4 separate regions of the Homo sapiens genome follow, and regions 1, 2 and 4 are each linked to region 3. Evidence: promoter capture Hi-C in human tissues and cell types (Jung and others, 2019). All regions are on one chromosome and are shown on one strand. The core of a region is centred on a gene start or on the middle of the fragment in contact, and the rest is flanking DNA. Distances in the headings are between cores, read along the strand shown. Region 1 holds the start of CHTF18 (chromosome transmission fidelity factor 18). Region 2 holds the start of NTN3 (netrin 3). Region 3 holds the start of NME3 (NME/NM23 nucleoside diphosphate kinase 3). Region 4 holds the start of KCTD5 (potassium channel tetramerization domain containing 5).

Evidence for each region. Contacts are between HindIII fragments. The study calls those that stand out against the background at their distance.
Region 1: a contact is called between the fragment with the promoter of CHTF18 here and the fragment with the promoter of NME3 in region 3, in 1 of the 25 tissues and cell types used here (dorsolateral prefrontal cortex).
Region 2: a contact is called between the fragment with the promoter of NTN3 here and the fragment with the promoter of NME3 in region 3, in 1 of the 25 tissues and cell types used here (dorsolateral prefrontal cortex).
Region 4: the fragment with the promoter of KCTD5 here is called in contact with the fragment with the promoter of NME3 in region 3 in 1 of the 25 tissues and cell types used here (stomach).

Annotation. Positions count from the first base shown.
Region 1 is chr16:787,370-790,770 of GRCh38, reverse strand. It overlaps CHTF18 (chromosome transmission fidelity factor 18), which reads right to left and starts at 2,151. Exons shown (of 22, transcript NM_022092.3): 1 at 1,996-2,151; 2 at 1,646-1,840; 3 at 1,411-1,561; 4 at 1,056-1,224; 5 at 502-594; 6 at 372-424; 7 at 105-246. The coding sequence starts at 2,086. RPUSD1 (RNA pseudouridine synthase domain containing 1) reads left to right here and starts at 2,390. Exons shown (of 6, transcript NM_058192.3): 1 at 2,390-2,515; 2 at 3,027-3,215; 3 at 3,294-3,401. The coding sequence starts at 3,034. RefSeq lists silencers at 1,858-1,917, 2,098-2,557, 2,578-2,667 and an enhancer at 3,117-3,401. The HindIII fragment of the contact is 13,916 bases long and covers 1-2,200 here.
Region 2 is chr16:2,467,834-2,473,644 of GRCh38, reverse strand. It overlaps NTN3 (netrin 3), which reads right to left and starts at 2,348. Exons shown (of 6, transcript NM_006181.3): 1 at 1,016-2,348; 2 at 756-944; 3 at 511-660; 4 at 327-377; 5 at 142-216. The coding sequence starts at 1,943. TEDC2-AS1 (TEDC2 antisense RNA 1) reads left to right here and starts at 5,432. Exons shown (of 1, transcript NR_135198.1): 1 at 5,432-5,811. RefSeq lists silencers at 2,071-2,210, 5,474-5,523, 5,534-5,811 and enhancers at 4,144-4,223, 4,384-4,523, 4,483-5,026. The HindIII fragment of the contact is 12,116 bases long and covers 1-5,811 here.
Region 3 is chr16:1,767,312-1,772,792 of GRCh38, reverse strand. NME3 (NME/NM23 nucleoside diphosphate kinase 3) reads left to right here and starts at 1,250. Exons shown (of 5, transcript NM_002513.3): 1 at 1,250-1,304; 2 at 1,383-1,513; 3 at 1,622-1,723; 4 at 1,800-1,912; 5 at 2,027-2,473. The coding sequence starts at 1,259. The coding sequence ends at 2,144. It overlaps MAPK8IP3 (mitogen-activated protein kinase 8 interacting protein 3), which reads right to left. Exons shown (of 32, transcript NM_001318852.2): 27 at 5,058-5,229; 28 at 4,875-4,988; 29 at 4,686-4,724; 30 at 4,415-4,594; 31 at 4,167-4,316; 32 at 2,442-4,090. The coding sequence ends at 3,969. It overlaps MRPS34 (mitochondrial ribosomal protein S34), which reads left to right. Exons shown (of 3, transcript NM_023936.2): 2 at 147-189; 3 at 280-898. The coding sequence ends at 572. RefSeq lists silencers at 1-44, 915-1,504, 1,815-2,014 and enhancers at 525-614, 4,125-4,174. The HindIII fragment of the contact is 25,298 bases long and covers 1-5,481 here.
Region 4 is chr16:2,679,495-2,685,608 of GRCh38, reverse strand. KCTD5 (potassium channel tetramerization domain containing 5) reads right to left here and starts at 3,086. Exons shown (of 6, transcript NM_018992.4): 1 at 2,809-3,086. The coding sequence starts at 3,060. RefSeq lists enhancers at 2,404-2,453, 2,524-2,573, 2,118-2,728 and a silencer at 2,824-3,003. The HindIII fragment of the contact is 14,940 bases long and covers 1-6,114 here.

The DNA of each region.
Region 1 (3,401 bases), core at 902-3,401, 980 kb after region 3:
CTCCGAGGCCCAGTGGATTGGCTGTGCAAAAATCACTGGGCCCAGGTTCTTCCATCTTGGGAACAGAGGAAGCCAGCCACACTTGAGTGAGAACAAGACCTCACGTCATCACTGAGCAGCTCCGTGTAGTGGCGGGGTGCAAACTCATCCACCCAGAGGCAGTGACTGGAGGCGTCTTGACCGTCAGTCGGCTCCTCCTCAGGGGCCCCCAAGGGCTGGGCTGCCTCCTCCTCCCCCGACCTGAGACTGGAGAGGACCACGTCCTGAGCCACAAACAACTCGCAGGGACCATGCCAACCCACACGCTAGGAGCTAGGAGTTGGTGCAAGAGCCAACAAGGGTCCCCAGGGCGGAAGGGCCAACCAAGTCACCTGTGCAGGGTGTCTGAAAGCTTCTGGGCCTCCTGAAGCAGCCGCTCCCGCCGCTGTGCAAACAACAGGCTGGAATCAGGAGGGCTCAGGCGGCCCCGCCACCGCCCCCCAGCAAACCCGCAGCCCCTACCTCGCCGTCGACCTGCTTCTTCAGGGAGGCTAAGGACACACCCAGCAGGTCCAGCTGGCCACCGCCTCGCCATGGGACGTGGAGGAGAGAGCCCTGTGGGGAAGGGAGGACAATTGCCTCTGGGCCCCTCCTAGGTCACAGGATTCACGTCAGCCCCCATCAGTGCTCAGGGACCCGGGTGGGACAACCCCAGTAAGCTGGCCAGTGAGGGGTGGGAGACTGGACAGGGGTGCCAAAGGAATGAAGCCATCCAGATGGGTCAGCTGCAAAGGGAAATTGGGGGCAGCTTTAGGAGAAAGGAGGAAAGGGCAAAAGCAGGAGGGGAAGCAAGGAGGCCCTCTCCACCCGAGGCCATACAAACAGGCTGGACAGCAACCTGCTGTGGGGAGGCTGTGTCCTCTAAGTCTACGCCCCATGACGCAGCCTCCCCCTCTGCACCCCTGGGGCTCTGCACAGGACCCGCTTTAAGCAAATGGCAGGGGTGAGGGGCTCCAAGGACCCTTTCCTGAGCAGCACTGGCCCACCCACCGTGCAGGAAGGCCACAGCCACGCACCTGCACCCCCGGGGCCATGGGGTCAGCACGCAGCACCAGATAAGCCCGGACGCCCTCCGTGGATGTCACGTGGACGTAGTCCTCCAAGATGGGGGGCCGCCTCAGGACGGGATTGCGGGCAGCTGGTGAGGCCCGTGTGAGACCCACGTCGGCAGCAGCTTCTGAGACTCTGGAGAGAGACCGGGGCTCAGTGGCAGAAACTCAAGCGTGGGGTCACCCTTGGATATGGGTGTCCGAGACTGCTCTCAGCCATGGAACCCTCCCCACCCCCCAGGCCTCATCCAGGGCACGGGATGGGCTCCATCTGAGTCCCACTGGACAGATGGGATGGGACGCCCATGTCCAAGCCACACACCCGTGGCCCCAAAGCTCTGCGAGGTCCTCAGGGCTCGGCGGCGGGGTGATGTCCGTCGGCGAGGAGTCGGGAGGGGGCGGCTCCTCCATCTCCTCCGATCTGAAGTTCAGCCTCTTGACCACCTGCAGCCTAGGCCGTTTGATCCTGGGGGCTGGGGGAGACACATGCAGGGAACCAGAGGCCTCCTCAGCCTCGCGCCCACTCCGGAGGCCCTGGGGCAATGCCGCCAACCTACCGTGGGGCAGGGACCCGGCCGGCTGCAGGTCGGCGTCCACCTGCCTCTTCCTGGCGCCGCCCTGGCTGCTGCCCACAGATGCGGCTGGGGCGGGACTGGAGGCCGCGTCCCCTCTGGCAAGGGCCTCCTCGAACGTCCGCGGGGGTCGGCCCGCGGTGAACAGGGGGACCCCGGAGGGCGACGGAGTCGACGCCCCTGCTGGGAGAGGAGATTGTCAGCGGCCGCCCCGAGACAGCAGATCCCGCCAGCGGCGACGTGGAGGCCCCTTCGGCCCCCGGCACGCCCTCCCCGAGGTCGCCACTGTCCCGGCTTTCGCAGCTCCTCCCCAACGGCCGGGGGCCGCGCCCCACCTTCCAGCTCTGCCAGCACCTCCAGCTCGGCCGCGAACTGGTTGTGGAAATCATCCTCGACGCCGCACAGCTCCTGCTCGTAGTCCTCCATACCGTCCGCGAGCCCGAGCTCCCGCTCCGAACCTCCCGCGCCGCCGCCGCCGTCGCGCACTGCCCGCCCCGAGCGTGCCGGGCGCCGCCAATCAGCAGCCGGCGTGCCCGGCGGCGCGCGCCATTGGTTGGCGTGGCGGAGGCGGGGCTGCGCGAGGGGTGGGCGGGGCGAGTTCCTGCTCCGCAGCCCCCGCGTCCTGTCCTGGGGAGCTCGCCATTGGCCGCCGCAGCCGCCCTTCCGCGGCGGGGGCGGGCCGGGGGCGGGCCGGGGGGGGGGGCGGGGCTGCGCGCGCAGCGGTGCAGGGCGGAAGCGCTGCCAGGCGTCCGGAGCGGAGCTTCCAGGGTCTCTGGGTCGCCAGCGCGCGGGCGCGCGGCTGGAGCCGGCGCCGGGCACGGCATCGGGGGCCTGGACTGCACGGCCCGGCAGCAGGTTGGTCTTGGCGTGGGCGTGGGCGCGGGAGGGGCTCGGAGCCAGGGTCGGCCTGCCCACCGGGCCTGTGCGGGGCGCGGGTCTGCGCGGACTGCGGGGAGCGAGGAGGCCCCAGCCCTAACCCGCGCTGCGGGCAGACCTGGCTGCCGGGCCTGGTAGTGCTGCAGCCCCTCCCCGCCCCCACCGTCGGGCAGAGGCATTCACGTGCATCCCCTGGAGGGGAGGGTCTGTGGGGAGGATCTGTGGGGCAGGTTTGGAACGGGCTCTTTCTCCAGGCTTAGGTCAGGCAGGGCCCTTCAGGTCAGCCCGGAGCAGGCTGACTCCTTGACTCCCCAGCTGACGCCCTGGGGACTGATCTCGGGGACTGAGGATGCAGGTGCACAGTAGGGCTGCGGACCCGGCTCGGTGGCTTCGCACCGGAGCCCGGGTGGGGCGGTGCGGGTACCTCTGTATGCTGGGCTGGGGGCGCACCACGTGCTCACAGCACACGCACCCACGCGTGGCTCGGCAGGCCGGCCATGGAGCCAGGCAGCGTGGAGAACCTGTCCATCGTGTACCGGAGCCGCGACTTCCTGGTGGTCAACAAGCACTGGGACGTTCGCATTGACAGCAAGGCGTGGCGGGAGACTCTGACCCTGCAGAAGCAGCTGCGGTACCGCTTTCCCGAGCTGGCCGACCCTGACACCTGCTACGGGTTCAGGTAGGGGGGGCGGCCGGAGCCCCACGGTGGCGTCTGTGGAGGAAAGTGGCTCAGACTCTGGACTCTGTCCCACTCCAGGTTCTGCCACCAGCTGGATTTCTCCACCAGCGGGGCGCTGTGCGTGGCCCTAAACAAGGCAGCCGCCGGCAGCGCGTACAGGTGCTTCAAGGAGCGGCGCGTGACCAA
Region 2 (5,811 bases), core at 1,099-3,598, 700 kb before region 3:
TGCCCGTGGAGGACCTGAGGGATGAGGATGGGCCTTGGGGCCCAGCAAGGGTCAAGGCGTTCCAAGGGGAAGCTGGCGGAGGAGGGAAGGTAGGGAGAGGAGGAAGGTGGGAAGGTCCGCGGGAGGCCTGAGGGCACCTACCATAGTCCTTCTTGCAGAACTTCTTTAGGCTGATGCGGTAGCTGCCACGGGCAGGTTTGCAGTGCGAGTCACAGTCTGGGTAGAAGGTGGGAGGCTGGCACAGACTCCCTTTCCCCACCCTCTCCTCCCAGAGCCCCCTCCCCCAAAGTCATGCCAGTCTGGGGCCCTGTCCTGTGTCCACTCACCCTGGGGCTGCACAGGGCTGCTGTCCTCAGTGGGTCCAGGGATAGGGGTCTCTGCAGAGAGGGAGGGAGAATGGCCTGCGATGGAGGGGCAGAGAGATCTGCAGGGCTCGGGGAATAGACGGGACAACAGCAGGGAGCTGGGGTGGCCTTGGCTTGGTGGCTGAGGCGGGGCAGGGTCACTCACTAACACAGGGCGCCACTGGGGAGCGGCTTTGCTGGAAGCCAGGCGCGCAGCGGTTGCAGGTGAGGCCAGTGACGCCATCCTTGCAGGGACACTGGCCTGTGGTCTGGTTGCAGGTCTTGCCAGCAGCACCAACCGGGTGACAGTCGCAGGCTGAGGACAGAGGTGGGAAGGGCCTGGTCAGAAGCCTGTCTGGGGATCTGGGAAGTCAGAGGGTGAGGGCCTGCAGGTGGCCGGTGGTGGCTCACCCCTGCAAGCCCGACGGTCACTCAGGGCACGGCCAGGGTCTCGATAGAAGCCCTCCCGGCAGTAGTGGCAGTGGCGGCCGGCGGTGTTGTGCCGGCAGTTGAGACAGACACCCCCGCTGCGGCGGCCGGACAGTCGGTACAGCTCCATGTTGAAGCGGCAGCGGCGGGCATGGCCGTTGCAGGAGCAAGCTGCAGGGAGGGATGGGTCAGGGGCAGGCTGGTTGTGTCCAAGGTCCCCAGGCCACCCTCCAAGGCCTCACCGAGGCAGGCGTGGGATTCCCGGGCAGTGGCCCGCTGCCATGGCCTGTCGCAGTAGAAGGGCTTGCAGCGGCCGCAGTCAGGGCCCTCGGTGCCATGCCGACAGTCGCAGATCAGGTGGCCCTGTGTGTCCAGCAGGCACCGTGAGGCATGTCCATTGCACTTGCAGCGCCCGCCCACCTGGAGGTCGGTGGCTGCGTAGGAGTAAGGGACGACGGCCTCCATGTCCCTGGGGTCACCTGCCGTGCTAGGCCTTGTGAGCACTACACGGACGTCGGTGGCGGTCACCCAGTCTTGGAGCACTGGGCTGCTGTCCAGGTCCAGGCCTGGGGGGCTGCTGTCCTGCATGCTGAAGGCCAGAAGGCCGCTGCCATCAGGCTGGGCCAGGGGTGCGGGGAAGCACAGGGCCTCAGGCCCTGGGCCAGCTGGGCCATTGGCAGGGGCAGGCAGACGGCCATAGTCCAGGTCACAGTGGGAGGAGAAGAAGCCCAGCGGGGCCCAGCTGCGGCCATGGTCCTGAGACTTGAGCAGGGCCACGGAGGCTGGGGGAGCTGAGCAGAAGCGCAGGCTCACGAAGACCAGCTCAAAAGCCTTGCCCAGGGGCACCGTGAGAGTCACGTTGAGGGGCGCCCGAGGCAGGGACTCCGAGCGCCAGCACAGAGGGCTGGCCGTGCCCCCTGGGGAAGTAAGGAGGGCGGGGGAGTGTGCCCGTCGCGGGTCGGAGGCGTCGCAGGCCCGAGTGGCCGGCCGCCCGCACGTGCTGGAAGCCAGCACCTCGCGGCCCAGGGCGGCGTTCACCAGTCCTGGCACGCAGCCGCGGGGCGCACCCCCCTCATCGTGGCAGGGGTCGGCGGGCGCCGGCGGCCCAGGACTCAGGGCGGCGAAGAGCGTGCCTGCCGTCAGCAGCAGCCCCCAGGGCCAGCCAGGCATGGCCGGAGCCGCTGCGGGTCAGCCAGTGGCCGGGCCCCAAGACGCTGCCCTTGGGGAAAAGAAGCCCTCTCCGCGGCTCTGCCCACCAGGCCCGCAATGCCGAGGAACAGGGCCCCCGGGCGGCCCCAGCCCGGCCCAGAGGTGGGAGCAGCGGCGGGCACGCCCCGGGCCCAGCACAGCAGCGGGGATGTTGGCGCGTCCTCCCGCTGGGCCTAGAGCGATGACAGGCGTCGCCCCCGCTCCCGGTGCCTCCGCCCGCGGAGGCCCCACCCGCCGCTCGCACTCACCCACCGAGGGCCGGGCGGAGCAGGTCTCCCGGCCTCCCGGGAAGGGCCGTGGGCGGGCGGGGCCTGCGGTGCACGGGCCGCCGCCTCCTCCCGGCTGCAGCGAGGGCGGACGAGCTGTGCCAGGAGGGGGTGGGGGGCGCAGCAGGCGCAAGCCCGGGCCCAGCCGGGGGCGGGGCTGCTCGGGTCGGGAAGGAGGCAGGGGAGGGGAGGGGGCCTCATCGCAGAGCTGGAATCAGAAGCAGATTCAGACGCGGGCTGGGCCAGCGGGGAAGGGGGCTGGGAGGCCCGGGAGCCAGGGGAGGGGCCGGGGAGCCAGGAATGCGCTGGCGGGAGGGGTCTGGAGGGGGGCAGCTCAGCCTTCGCAGCCCGTGGGGGACCACCCAGCAGGGTCCTGGGCCCACAGCCAGGTCTTTACTGCTCCTGGGGCTGTGCCACGTGCTGGACGGGGGTCTGGGTCGCCTCCTCCCTGAAGACCATCAGGCAGGCAAGGCCCCGGGTCTGACAGCAGAGGCCCTGGATGTTCCCCAGGTAGGGAAGCCAAGTAACCACCAGTTGAAGGGTCATCCCCAAAGCAGCATCTACTCGAGTAGAAGGAACCCAGGATTCGGTCAGGTCTAATTTTGAATCCAACTGCCCCATTTCTGGCTGCATGTCTTGGGCTCCTGTTTCCTCACCTGCCAGATGCCTGTTACTCAGCACGCGCTCTGAAGCTGTTGGATTTGATGAGTCTCAAGTGGCATCAGGCCCAAGTCGAGAGCTGCACAAATTGGAGTGTCTCCTGCCCATGTTGAGGAAGGGGGGCACCCCCATGGGCCTGAGCTGGGCTAAGACATGAGGCCAGCATCCCCTGCACCAGGCCAGATTCTGATCCCAAAGCTCCCTGGGTCTGCAAGTTTCTAGGGGCACCTCTGCCACGGGCCCAGCTGGCAGGGAGGACATGGAAGCTGGAGGGTGGGATGGGGTGGCTTCTTGGGGTTCGGGGGCTTGGTTAGCTGTTGAGGACCCCTCTGCAGGGGCAGGGAGTAGGGTTTAATCATGGGAAGGGGCTGGTCGCAACCCGGAGCCCACTGCCCTACGTCACAGCACGTTTGGGCAGGGAAACTGAGGCAGAAGCCCAGCTGGGTGGCCTGGGGACTAGCTGGGGATGGGGTAGCTGTGCCTGGGAGCGACACCACCAAAGAGGGTCCAGGAACAGCTCTGGTCAGAGAAACCTCCTCCCCTCCGACTTTCAGGTCCTTGACAGAGGAGGCCAAGCATCCCAGGGAGGGGCAGGGAACAAGTTCCGTGCAGGGCCAGCATCGAGGCCTGAATGCCCCGTTTCAGATGGGAGGCCAGGCCTGCAGCTGGTGGAGGAGGCCACGTGGGTGCTACCCTGGACACGACCAGAGATGAGCAAGGACCAGGAGGAAGAGAATGGAGAGGTAGACGCATCCCGCTGTTGGGGAGAGGAGGGGCAGGAGGACACGGAAGCCTCCTAGGGGAAACTGAAGGACCAGAGGAGGGAGCAGGAGGGCCTGACCATGGAGGGGAGGAACGGGAAGACAGGGTGATAGGGCACCTGGCTTGGCTCCTGGAGCAACTGACACTGGCTGGTGGGCACCTTCTCCTTGCCACACATCTGCATGTGACAGCCACAGATGCACAGGGATGGGGGCACCGGAGGACTGAACAGAGAGGGCTAAGGGGCTCTCTCTCTGCCACAGGGCCCCTGCCCCTCAGCTTCCTGATAAAGAGAATGGGAATTGTGTCCTTTACAAGTTGAGGGACCTCAACCTGACGGGGCTCACGCTCCGCTCTGTGGGTCAAGCTTAGAACCTGAAACGTCCCAACCACCCTCTTCAAGGTCCTTCTGGCTCCCAACCCCCACCCCCCGACACCCCACCCTAAGGGTGGGAGGAACCCTGGGGGGACTATGGGGGCTGAGATCATCATTCTGGGACAGTGGAGAGAAAAGCCCAGGCCTGACAGAGGGGTCCCACTGGCCAGAGACAAGCCTCTGGGGAAACCCAAGCTGTCTCTGGACGTCAGGGCCACTGCCAGACTGGCTGCCAGCCAGGCTGCAAGAGGGACAGTGGCCAGCAGCCTCTTCCACCCTCATCAGAGGGGCTGGCTTTGTCTCCAGCTCAGCTTCCCTGTGAGCCAGGACTGGGGTCTGCAGAACGTCTGGTGGCTTCTGGGGTGGGGGAAAGTAGGTGCCTGGGGCTCAGCCCTGCCCCAATTGTTCATCTGGGTCAGCAGCAGCGGCGGGAGGCCGTGGGCCCAGAGGGCCATTGTACCGCCAGCTCCCCAGGGAGGAGGCCGCTGGTCACAGGGCCTCTCCCCAGGAACAGTCCTCTGCACACGCTACTCTGCCCCCACCCCCAGCCCTCACAGATGGTGTTTGGGAGTTAGGAAGGGCCTCCCCACAGCGCCCAAGCGGGACTTATTGCTCCCCAGGGACCCAGCCACCTGTCCCAGCCCCTGGCTGGGGCCTCTCCCACCTCCCACCTCTCCACTGGCCCTGCCCCCTCCTGGCACCTTCTGCAACAAAGAAGCTCCGCCTCCCCTCCCCCCACCTGCAACTCAGGCCGCAGTGCTTCGCCTCCCCCTCCCCACCCCACCCCTCACCCCTAGAGTGGCAGCTCCAGCTTTGGGGCACAGGCTGGGGAGAGGGCATAGATGGGCTGGACAGTCCTAGGCGGCAGGGAGCTGAGAGTCTTTCCTGTAAGATGCCCGTTGATCCAATAATTCCCTGCCCAGCCCAGAACCTGCTGTCTCCCCCCAGACGCCTGCAAGCCACCACATGTTCACCTATTGCACATTTATCGAGCGCCTATTATGCCTCGGGGGGTTTCCAACCGAGCTCCGAAGGCAGACAGCCCAGGAGCAGACACAGCGCCGGCTCCCAACGGCGGGTGGTGTGGCCGAGCCCGCGTCGCGCTGCCCTGCACCCAGCACCCTCGCGCCGGGTCGATCCCCCAGCCTCGCAGACCGCTGCCCAGCCAGGCCGCTCTGCGGTCGCGCCAGCTCTGCGCGCCAAGTCAAAAGCTGAAATGCGACGTTGGACGGAGGAGGGAAGAGAGGGAAAGCAGAGAGGGAGGGAGGGAAACGGCCGGTGGCCTTCTCTGCCCAAAGGGTTCCAGAAGAAACGATTTGGGGATGGGGTGTGGGGGGCGGCCTCTGCGACCACGCTTGGCACTGCGCCCGCCCGGCCGGGGCGAGGTTGGAGGGAGGGGCGGCCGGCTCGCGGTGACCTCGATGGGAGGGGGCCTCGCCCGCGGCTCAGGGCGCCCCCGGCTCCCTGCGCCCGGCCCTTCGCCTCCGCCGAGCGCGCCAGCACAGGAAGGCGGCGGTCAGAAGCCCCAGGCCCGCACTGAGCGCGGCCAGCGACGAGCCCTGGGCCAGGTCCAGGCGGGGTCCCCGCAGCGAGAAGGTGATGGCCGTGGCAGCCGCACCAGCCAGCACGGCCACGGCACCGAACGGCAGAATGCAGCGAGGCCACGAGCCCCCAGCGCCGCCGGTGGCCAAGAGCAGGGCGCGCAGGGCCCCGGGGGGTTCCGGGTGCGCCAGACCCGGCCCGGGGGGCGAGGCGGGCGCCGCTG
Region 3 (5,481 bases), core at 1-2,500:
GCACCCCGTCCGCACCCCGCCCCTGCAGCCGCCTGGTCTCCCCGCCTCCCCTCCTCCCTGCAGGTTTGCGTGGCTGAGGCTCCCACCTCCTGACCTCGGGGGCCGAGAGCTTTGCGAGCTGACCCCGCTTCCTTCTGGCTTTGCAGAACTTGGACCACGGGAAGGCCTGGGGCATCCTGACCTTCAAAGGTAAGGCTCGGGAGAGCGGGTGCCCGGCAGTTCGATGCCGACCGCCGACGGCACAGCAAGTGTGTGCAGACGCCTCTTTTTCTTCATCAGGGAAGACTGAGAGCGAGGCGCGGGAGATCGAACACGTCATGTACCATGACTGGCGGCTGGTGCCCAAGCACGAGGAGGAGGCCTTCACCGCGTTCACGCCGGCGCCGGAAGACAGCCTGGCCTCCGTGCCGTACCCGCCTCTCCTCCGGGCCATGATTATCGCAGAACGACAGAAAAATGGAGACACAAGCACCGAGGAGCCCATGCTGAATGTGCAGAGGATACGCATGGAACCCTGGGATTACCCTGCAAAACAGGAAGACAAAGGAAGGGCCAAGGGCACCCCCGTCTAGAATGCCAGAACCAGCGGGTGGCCTTAGGGGCTGTGAGGCAGTGGGGACCTTATTGATGAAAGAAACCGTCTTTGCGTTACACCCGAGTCTGCCTCTCGGAGCAGGGAGCTCACCTTCCGCGACGTGTTCTGAGGGTCTGCATCTTAGGGGGGAGGGCTGGGGCAAATCGCCACCTGTGCCTTTCCTCTGGCCCTGCTGCCCCCACACCCAACTCCGAGGGCCCACGCTGGGGAAAGCGGGAAGCGCTCGCTCCCTTTCCCCCATTAGTGCTCTCTCTGCCTGGATCCCGGCAGAAGCTATGAAAGGGAATAAAGAGAAAAGAAGTACCCAGGGTCGTGGTGTCTTTGCGCTCTGTCTTTAGGACCGGGGAGAGAAGGGCTGACGCTGTGGTCGTGGCCCTGGCCGGGGGGGCGCGGGGGGGGCGGGGTTCGGGCGGTGCGGAGCAGGGCGCCGCGTGGGTGGAACCACCTGGGCGGGTTGTGGGGGATACAGTTAGTGTCCGAGCTGCTGGAGGAGACTTGGCCTCCGCAGCTGCCCTCCGGCCCCCCACGGCTGCCGGGTTCCGGGGTGCAAGTGAAGCAGCCTCCCCGCGGAGGCCGCAGCGCCCCGACCAGGCCTCTTTAAGCGCAGGCCCCGCCCCGGGCGCCACCGCCCCGCCCCGCGGATCCCGCTCCCGCACCGCCATCATGATCTGCCTGGTGCTGACCATCTTCGCTAACCTCTTCCCCGCGGGTGAGCCGCGCGGCGCGGGCCGGGGGCGGGTGGCCGGTGCTGGGCCGGCCTGACGGCCCGTCCCCGCCTGCCCCGCAGCCTGCACCGGCGCACACGAACGCACCTTCCTGGCCGTGAAGCCGGACGGCGTGCAGCGGCGGCTGGTGGGCGAGATTGTGCGGCGCTTCGAGAGGAAGGGCTTCAAGTTGGTGGCGCTGAAGCTGGTGCAGGTGGGGGCGCGGTGAGCGAGCGGGGGCGCGGTGTGGGGGGAAGGGGAGCGGGGACCTGGGGACGCCTAGGTGCCGGGTGCGGGCGCAGGCGGCCTGACCCTTCCGCAGGCCTCCGAGGAGCTGCTGCGTGAGCACTACGCCGAGCTGCGTGAACGCCCGTTCTACGGCCGCCTTGTCAAGTATATGGCCTCCGGGCCGGTGGTGGCCATGGTGAGTATCCGGGAAGCGGGCGGGCGGCTCCGGGACCCCCACCCCCGCGTGATACCGCGCCCGTTCCTCCGCACAGGTATGGCAGGGGCTGGACGTGGTGCGCACCTCGCGGGCGCTCATCGGAGCCACGAACCCGGCCGACGCCCCGCCCGGCACCATCCGCGGGGATTTCTGCATCGAGGTTGGCAAGTAAGGCCCGCCCCGGGGACGGTCCCAGCCCCGTCCGGCCTCCCCCTGTTCAGCCTGCGTGGTACCCGTGCCGGAGGTCTCTTTCCCACGCTCACACGCGCCTCTTCCGCGCAGGAACCTGATTCACGGCAGCGACTCGGTGGAGAGTGCCCGCCGCGAGATCGCTCTCTGGTTCCGCGCAGACGAGCTCCTCTGCTGGGAGGACAGCGCTGGGCACTGGCTGTATGAGTAGCCCGGCAGATGCGCGTCACAGAGGCTCTCACACTCCAGCCTCCTCCAGGGCCCAGGTGGGCGGGCTTCTGGCCCCACCCCACAGCGCTTGGAGCATCCCTTTGGACGGGCTGCTGAACATCCACCTGTCTGGACGTTGCATGGAGGGTGGCGCAGGCCTCTCCAATCCCTGGCGTACAGGGTTTCCTGCCCGAGGAGCTGCTCCAGGAGCCTGCGCGGCTCGCCTGGAAACGTGCCAGGACACTGTCCTGGTGCCCAGCCCAACGTGGTCCAACGTTTTTTTATAATAAAGTCCTCGTTTTCGTTTCGATTTGGGCCCAGGAACAGGCAGCTACGACGTTAAGACATTTATTACATACAGAGCAGATATGTGGGTTTGCTTGCAGGGCCAAAGCCTGAGGAGAATCGTCACCCCTCCCCCAGCCGCCCCACTGCTCAGCCCGGAGTCACTTCGAGATCCTGGGGGAACAGACGAGGGAGCGGACATACATCACAGTGGAGGTGGCAGGGTGGTGGGGAGAAGCCGGCAGCGCAGCGGCTGCAGCCCTCGGTGGCCAGCGGGGCTTGTGGGGCAGCTCCCCAAGATCTGTGCTTCTCTGGTTGGGGGTGGGTGCGGGGGCTGGGCTGCCCTCATAAGGGCCTCCCAGACAGGAGTGCAGTGGGCCTGGAAGGTAGGAATAGGCCAGAGAGGCCCAGCTGGGCAGGGAGAGCAGTCCAGGGTGGCGTCTGCCCTCTGCGGGCTTGGAGTCGGCTGGGGGCGGCTCCATCCTCAGCCCCACGGGCCTCTGCTTGGTGGCCTCTCTGTTGCTCCCTGGAAGCAGGCCACAGCGGGCAACCCTAGGCACTTAGTAGCGTGTCTGGGAGCTGGGCTCCGTGGAGCCCCGTGCAGGAGGCAGGCCCCGGGAGCACATCATCCCCCATCAACCTGAGGCTGAGCCTGTGTCCTAGGACTGATCCCGGAGAGGCCAGGGGCCTCCCCTTCTTCCTGAGGCCTGGGCCTGCCCTGGCAGCCTGAGAAATCCCACCCTGGGGGCTTCTGGGAGGGACAGGACTCCAGGGCCCACTCCTCCAAGGTGAGTCTTCTGCCCAGGCAGAGCCTGGGGGGACACGGGTCAGAACGGGGCTGGCAAGAGCCTGCCTGCATGGGCAGGATGGGGTAGCAGTCTCTGTTCTCAAGCAGCTGCCCCAGGGAGCCGGGCCTCGTGCTTTTATGCCAGCTCCCTGGGCAGGGGACAGCTGGGGTGGGGACAGACAGGATAGAGGCTTGACGACGGGGAGGCCCCAGAGAAGGCCGGCTGGGGTGCAGGCACCTGGGCAGCCTGAGGCCCACCTCCCTGGGCAAAGGCTAGTGCCTGGCCCAGCTCCCCTAGGCAGAGTGAGGGCCCAGGAGGCAGGGTGGCCCCATGAGCAGCATGCAGAGGTGGGCCCAGGGCAGGCAGCCTCGGCGGCGGGGAGCCCCTGCCTCCTCCAGGGGTGCTGGGGAGTAGGAGGCCCAGGGTAGAGCCAGGACCACCTCGGATTCTGCCTGCGCTGGGCCCAAGGTGCCCTGGACTTGAGGACTCTGGGCTGGAAGCTGGCCAGGAGCTGCCCGGGAAACTGTCCCGAGAGCATCTTCCCCTCGGGTGGAAGTTCCCCTCCCCTCCTCCTCCCAGCTGATCCGCATCCCCGCACTCCCTGCCCGCTGGAGGGGCCAGACTCAGGTGAAAGCTGCAGGTTGAGAGGTTAGAAGAGGGGCGGCGGCGCCTGGCTGGCTACCCCGCGGGCCGGGCGGGGGTCAGGTGGTCGGGGGTCCTATGTACAGGTCGGGCCAGGCAGGGCAGCAGCTTCACTCGGGGGTGTAGGACACCTGCCACACGATGATGTGACTGCGCTCTGCCTTGGACAGCACGGGCTTCACCTGGCTCATGTCCCCTGCGCCCTCCTCCGTCTCGTCGTCCTCTCCGTCTCCTGCGGGCAAAGCAGCAGAGTGACGGCCAGGCTCCCCCCGCGCCCAACCTCAGCCCTGTCCCTGGGCCCCGCTCACCAATGCGGAAGTCGATGTAGCCCTCCCCGCCGCTCAGCACCAGCACGTTCCGCAGCTTCTGGCCCTCGACCTCCGAGGCAGGGGCAGCTGGCCCAGGGCCCTCGGCTGGGCTGTCCAGCACACTCCCATTCAGGGTGGCCAGCACGTTCCCTGGGATGGCAGAAGCGATTCAGGACAGCGGCCTCCTGGGGGAGGCGGCGGCCACTGGCATGCAGGGGATGTGGATGGCAGGAGGGGCCCAGCCTCACCTGGCACCGAGACAAAGAACTTCACGGCATCGCGGTGCCCATGGAAGCATAGCTGGGCCTGGGCCATGGAGCAGTAGGGGATGAAGCTGCTGGCCGCCCTGTCACTGCTGTCATCGCCATACACGTGGATGATGCCCCCGGGACGGGCGCCCTCCCCAGAGGTGGGGGATGTCTTATTGGCTGCAGGGAGAGAACCCAGAGGCGCTGAGCCCGCATACAGGTGGAGAGTGGGAGAGGCTCCCGTGAGGGGACACGAGGTGGCTGGGCTTACCTCGGAGCCCCAGGAGCTGGCCTCGGTGCAGGACCACAGCTGGGGACATGGGAGGAGCATGGGAGAAGAGGAGAGCGGTCAGCGTAGGGGCAGCAAGGCACCCTCCAAGGTGGCCCTGCAGAGCCACCCCGTGAACCCACGTACACCTCTGGCAGCACCACTGCCCCTGCAGGTGTGCAGGCCACTCACTCTCTGTCAGGGGGATGGAGATGACCACTCCGTTGCCGGTGCCCACCCAGAGCCGGCTGCCCGCGACAAGCAGGGCCGTGATGCGTACGAAGGAGAAACCCAGCTTGCCAGTGCCTGTGGGGGAGAGCGGTCAGGGTGGCTGGCCTTGAGCACCCCACCACCCCATCTGGCGTGGCCCCTCACCTAGCATCTTGCTGACGTAGGGCTCAATGTCCACGTCCTGTAGATGCTGGTGCGTGTGTGCATGGTAGAGCCTCAGGGTGGAGTCCAGGCGGATGGACACCCATACGCCATCGCCGATCCACGCCAGCTGCCGCACCTGGCTCTCCCGCCGCGGGTGGGCGTCAAATGACTTCTGTGGAGTCATGGCTGCCCATCAACAGGGCTGGGGAGAGGAGAGGAAGTGGGGAGCCCCAAACCTGCCACAGCTCCAGGGCCACCTGCAGTCCCCTCAGACCTCCCAGCCAGCGCCTGCTTTGCGCCTGTTCGAGCCTGAGTCATAGGTGGTACAGGGGAGATGGGACCCACGTAGGGCCTCGTGGACTTCCGTATGGAAGATGCGGGAGAGCTGCTGGCCAGCAGGAGCCTCTTCCCCTCCCCGGGGCCC
Region 4 (6,114 bases), core at 1,837-4,336, 910 kb before region 3:
CTGGAGACAAAACTAAGATGAAGCATTTTACACATTTCCTCATTTGATGAAAAACACCGGAAAACACTTTAGTAACGTGACTAATATGAATTAGCACTACACTTTTGGCAAACTATCTGTCACTAAAACTAACCTTATTTACTCCAATTATTGTTTTCTCCTTTTCTTTTTTCTTTTTTTTTGAGACAGAGTCTCGATCTGTCGCCCATGCTGGAGTGCAGTGGCGCAACCTCAGCCCACTGTAACCTCTGCCTCTCGGTTCAAGTGGTTCTCCTGCCTCAGCCTCCCGAGTAGCTGGGAGTACAGGCACGCGCCACCATGCCCAGCTAATTTTTTTGTATTTTTAGTAGAGACGGGGTTTTGCCATGCTGGCCAGGCTGCTCTCAAACTCCTGACCTCAGGTGATTCACGCGCCTCGGCCTCCCAAAGTGCTGGGATTACAGGCGTGAGCCACCTTGCCCGGCCCCTACTCCAATTATTGTATGAGACAGAGACGACTGTATCTGCTACTTTACCTTCATGTTCTGAATTTGAGTTTACCATTTGGAAATCAAACCTGGTTAAATGGATGATGATGAAAAGAGCAAGTATAACACAGATATATTCAGAAAGATTAATTACCCCTCGCTCAAAGAATTGATTCCTACAGTAAAGCATTTTTTTGTTTGTTTGAGACAGAGTCTTCCTCTGTCATCCAAGCTAGAGTGCAGTGGCGTGATCTTGACTCACTGCAAGCTCCACCTCCCAGGTTCAAGCGATTCTTCTGCCTCAGCCTCCAGAGTAGCTGGGACTACAGGCACGCGCCACCACACCTGGCTTATTTTTTTTTTATTTTTTTTTTTTTGTGATGGAGTCTTGCTCTTTCACCCAGGCTGGACTGCAGTGGCGCTAACTAGGCTCACTGCAAGCTCCTCCTCCCAGGCTCACGCCATTCTCCTGCCTCAGACTGCCTAGTAGCTGGGACTACAGGTGCTCGCCACCGCGCCTGGCTCATTTTTTGTATTTTTAGTAGAGACAGAGTTTCATCATGTTAGCCAGGATGGTCTCGATCTCCTGACCTCGTGATCCGCCTGCCTCGGCCTCCCAAAGTGCTGGGATTACAGACGTGAGCCACCGCGCCCACCTTTTTGTATTTTTAGTAGAGACCGGGCATCACCATATTGGCCCGGTTGGTTTTGAACGAGATCCACCTGCCTGGGCCTCCCAAAGTGTTGGGATTACAGGCATGAGCCACCGCGCCTGGCCCATAATTTTTAACAAAGTCTTAAGGAACAGTAAAGCAAAGGGATCAACCACCTTAACTGTGCTAAAGTTCATCAACTGGGAATCAAGTGCTCCAGTGCTGAATAGACAACCATTGCCTCAAAGAACCCAATGGACAAGAGCAATTTAAACTCTAATTTCATATACAAAACAGGAATGCTTGAGTAGAAAGGCAAGGGAGTGACCACTAAGCCCTGTTATTTAAAAAGAAAAACCAAACAGTAAAACATACACCCACACTTATAAAAGGAAAATCACAGCTAACAAACGCCTATTTCTATCCTGGGGATGACTGTCATTTCCTGGGAGGTCAATTCTCTGAGTAGAGGGCTTGGTCAAATGAGCAATGGAAACAGTTGGAAGTTGTGGGGAGGCACAGGAGGGTTGGCATCTCAAACCCTCATTTCCACCCACAAGGCTGCCTTAGCAGTAACTCCAGATTCTCACTTCCTGATCACGGTCATGCCATGCTGAGAATGGTCTCAGTCAGGCTTCTCAAACTTGAAGAGGGATCCGAACCTTTCTGGGAAGCCTCCTGCATGGCAAATGTTGGCTGCCAAGGCACAAAGCCAAGCGCAGTCATGTAAGCTCAACTGAAAGACCCCGCAAAGTTAGTATAAGGCTTGTGAACTGCCTTGAATAAATATAGGTAACAACTTCTTCAAACAGGCTTTTTTGTGAGTTTCAATCCTGCACAACTCCCAAGACACGGTTCCTCGGCTCCACAACTCTTGATAAATAAAGGTAGCAAAAGGTTTCTATTACCATCTACCCAACAGCATGAGCATTTCGCTTGATGAAAGACAAGCTGCAAACTAACCTGGAAATTCCTGTCCTTTTGCGAAGACAGTGGGAAAACTAAGCCAATTAGAAAGCAGATTGAAAGATTCCTTACCTGACCCTTCCTGGACATCCCTAAAGCAACCCTTAATATGAGCAAAATCCCCTTCGAAAAATCATACTATATACTACGGACGCATCTTCTAAGAGGTGCTGAGTGGGTGCTGCGTGCTGTGGATGGAAAGGATGGAGCGCCAACTCTCTAAATGCAAGTCACCAGGGAAAAAAAGGGCCGCCCATATCAACCCCCACGTCAGCGTTAATTCAAACGTCCAGAATGTGAAACAACGCCAAGGGTTCTGTTTCCAGAGCCAGCAAGTACCCTGGGACAGAGAAGAGAAGGCGTTCACACACCCTGGGCAAAAGAACCTAGTGAGAAAAAGAAAGTAGAATCACAGCAAAGTCCGGGGTCTAGGAAGCCTCCTCCACCAAAGAGCAAAGAGGGCGAGGAAGAGACACCCCCAAGGTGAATCGACTCAGGATCCTCAAAGGCAGTGGACGCCAGGGCGCCATCCTCACCCTCCCCTCCCAGGGTAGGGGATCGGGGCAAGCTGGGGAGGAGCTGGCGACAAGGGAGCGCGGGGCTCGAAGCCCGAGGAGAGTCGCCCGCTCCCGCTGAAGTCTCCTCCGCACGAAGCAGGGCGTGTGCAGGAGCCGCAGGCCGGGAAGGCCAGGACCCTCCGGGCTGGCCCGTGAGGCCCTCACCTTGTCTGAGTCCAGGTCGGGATCGGCCTGGCATAAGCGGTACAGGAAGGATTTCGGGTCCCGGCACAGGGTCTGCCGAGTGGTGAGGAAGTAGGTGCCGCCGACGTTGAGTCGGACCCACTTGGACACGCTGCCAGGGCGCTGGGCCAGGGCGCCGAGCCCAGCGCTGCAGCGGCGGCACAGGCCGCCCCCCAGCCCCGCCCCGATGCCGCCCCGGGCCGGCGACAGGAGCTCGCAGTGATTCTCCGCCATGATCCCAGCAAGCCCCGCAACAGCTCCCTTCCACCGGAAGCGTCCGGCTTTTAATAGCGTCCTCTGAGTTCTGTCCCGCCCACAGGTCCGCCCTGGTAGAGCGCCCGCCCCGGCGTCACGCGGTAGGCGGAAGTTCCGGTCCCGAAAAGCAGGAGGCTGGGCCCGCTTCCGGCGGGAGCGGAGCACGGGGTGATCTGGGCACTAACGCTGATGGGGAGCAGCGGACATCAGCCTCGACCTCCCACGAGCGGTGCACGAGCGCCTGACCCAGACCTCGACCCTAGCCTTCACCCCCACCCTGACTCCAGTTCATGAACTGGTCAAAGGAAGAGCCATGCCAGCAAACGTCTACACTGTACATGCTTTTTATTACAAGACTACGGAGCATAGGAGGAAAATTCATCATCTGGTAACTACACCTAAAGCACAAATATTTGGGGGGAAAAAAAGAACAGATTCATTAAATTATATGATTAAATCATTGACCCAATAGAAAATTTATATAATAAGGGCGGGGCCTGGTGGCTCACGCCTGTAATCCCAGCACTTTGGGAGGCCGAGGCGGGAGGATCAGGCGGTCAGGAGATCGAGACCACGCTGGCCAACATGGTGAGGCCCGGTCTCCACTGAAAATACAAAAATTAGCCTGGCGCGGTGGTGGGCGCCGGTAATCCAAGCTACTCGGGAGGCTGCGGCAGGAGAATGGCGTGAACCCGGGAGGCAGAGGTTGCAGTGAGCTGAGATCTCGCCACTGCACTCCAGCCTGGTGATAGGGCGAGAGTCTGTCTCAAAAAAAAAAAAAGAAAGTTTTTGTAATAAAGCCAGAAAAAAGTTGTAAAATATATAGTAATTATTCACATTCAAGGCTGTATATCAATACATATAACAACGTGGCCCCGAACATGAATTCAATACAAATAATTCATATATTAGAATTTAGGCCGGGCGCGGTGGCTCATGTCTGTAATCCCAACACTTTGGGAGGCCAAGGTGGGTGGATCACGAGGTCAGGAGTTCAACATCAGCCTGGCCAAGATGGTGAATCTCCGTCTCTACCAAAAATACAAAAAATTAGCCAGATGTGGTTGTGGGCGCTCGTAATCCCAGCTACTCGGAGGCTGAGGCAGAGAATTGCTTAAACCCAGGAGGCGGAGGTTGCAGTTAGCCGAGATCAGGCCACTGCACTCTAGCCTGGGCGACAGAGTGAGACTCCGTCTCAAGAAAAAAAAAGAATTTAAATAACAGGCTGAACTAGAGGCCAACAATAGCCAGCAAATAACCTTCTATAAGATTAAAAACACAAAAGTGTATATCCTAATACCATTGTATTATTTGTTTTCATGAGTTCTTTTAATTTTTGCTTTGTCTGTACATCACAGTTACAGCTACAGACCAGGTAGAGAATATTACGCATGTTCTGACTGCCACCCACCTGAAAGACGTACTAGTCATTTATCCTATTTCATGTTGTGAAGGAACAGCTACAGCAGCTCTAAATACTGTAACAATTTAATTTTGCCAACATCCAACTTAACAGTCGTAATAGAGGCTTTTACCAGCACAATGACCCCTATTCGTAGTCATTCTGCCAGACGGTTAGGCTATGTGGGTTACACAGCTTAAAAAAGGTCTGCCTTTTGTAAAAAGTTCTCTGTACATAGTTTGGTGTTTCTTCATATGGAAGAAATGAGTTATGGGGAAAATTCAGGTACACACGTAGGCTCGTTCAGTTGCTCACCACAGCCATCTCAACAGATGAAAGTGCTCTTTGTTGGAAACAGCTTCCTCCTCACACCAGTTCTCCACAGGCAGCCTCATCTACAACCCTGCAATTTTGGGCCAGAAGTGGTGGCCCCTCAGAGGCTCTGAAGTGCCTCCAGCCCCGATTCAGGCACTTGCCACGTGTGCTGCGTAAGAAGGGACCCCACCCAGTGAGTCAACATAGGCTCATGTCAAGTTTGAAAATAACTGGGGAAAAGTGTATGACAACATCTTCCAGAACATAGTACCTTCACCGTATTCTCACAGCAGCTGCGATCTCTGAAGTCTCAGCAGTGAGCACCCCGGGTCTGTCAACCAGCCAGGCAAGGGGGGGCCCTCAGGCTTCAGAGGGCAAGAAACCAAATTCCGTGCAATTTGGCCATAATCTCTGGTAGAGTGAAGCAGCACTGAACGCAGTGCCTAGAAAAACCTCCTGCACGTTCCCCTGCACAATCAATGGACCCCAACTACAGTGGAGAAATGAAGAATCCAACCAAATTTGGGTGGTCTGGACTTGCTGCCAGCCAGGCAATCTGCAACACTGTGGGCAGGGAGATGGGGGGAGGCGGCCTGAAATCTACACCAGCTGGGACAACCACGCCCTACAATGAAAAAGCCAGCCTGGCTGCTGGGCTCTTGTGAACCACTAAGACCTGAAGGTGGGGGGGTGGAAGGGGGAGACAAATGCACTCTTGTAAAACCCAATCAGCTACGTGGTTTTTTTCAAGTAGAGGCTTTGCTCTGCTACTGACTCCAAATGGCCTAATGTACTTTCTGAGTCTATAAACTTAATTACAGATCACTCACTAAGCATGTGGCAAGGTCAGTTCAACACTTGTTATCTCTGCTGACTGCGCAGTTGCAAATTCAATACCATTGTGGACATGAAGTACAAGATTCTGAAAATATCGCCAAGCGCTTGAAAGCCACGGCAGCAGGGAGGGCAGAGAGCTGACATGCAGGCAGAGCCAGGTTCTTGCAACCAAAACAAGGAAATTGGCTCTTGGAAAAAATCGGCCACAAATGGATTGCAGTAGTGACATCCTCTTAGCATTTAAATAAAGAGCGGTCTTATTCAGACATTCTTTGGAACACACGGCTTATCAGAAACCGATTTGTTCAGAATCTGTAAGACACAACTAAGGTGGTTCTGCTACTGGAACTGAGCGTCTACACATCAGGTCGAGAGAGAGACAGAAATATCTTCAAAATGAACAAACTCTTTCACCTCAAAATACCACTTCCAGGCATCTAAGGGGAAAAAAAGTAAGAAATCAGAAGATTTTAAAGATA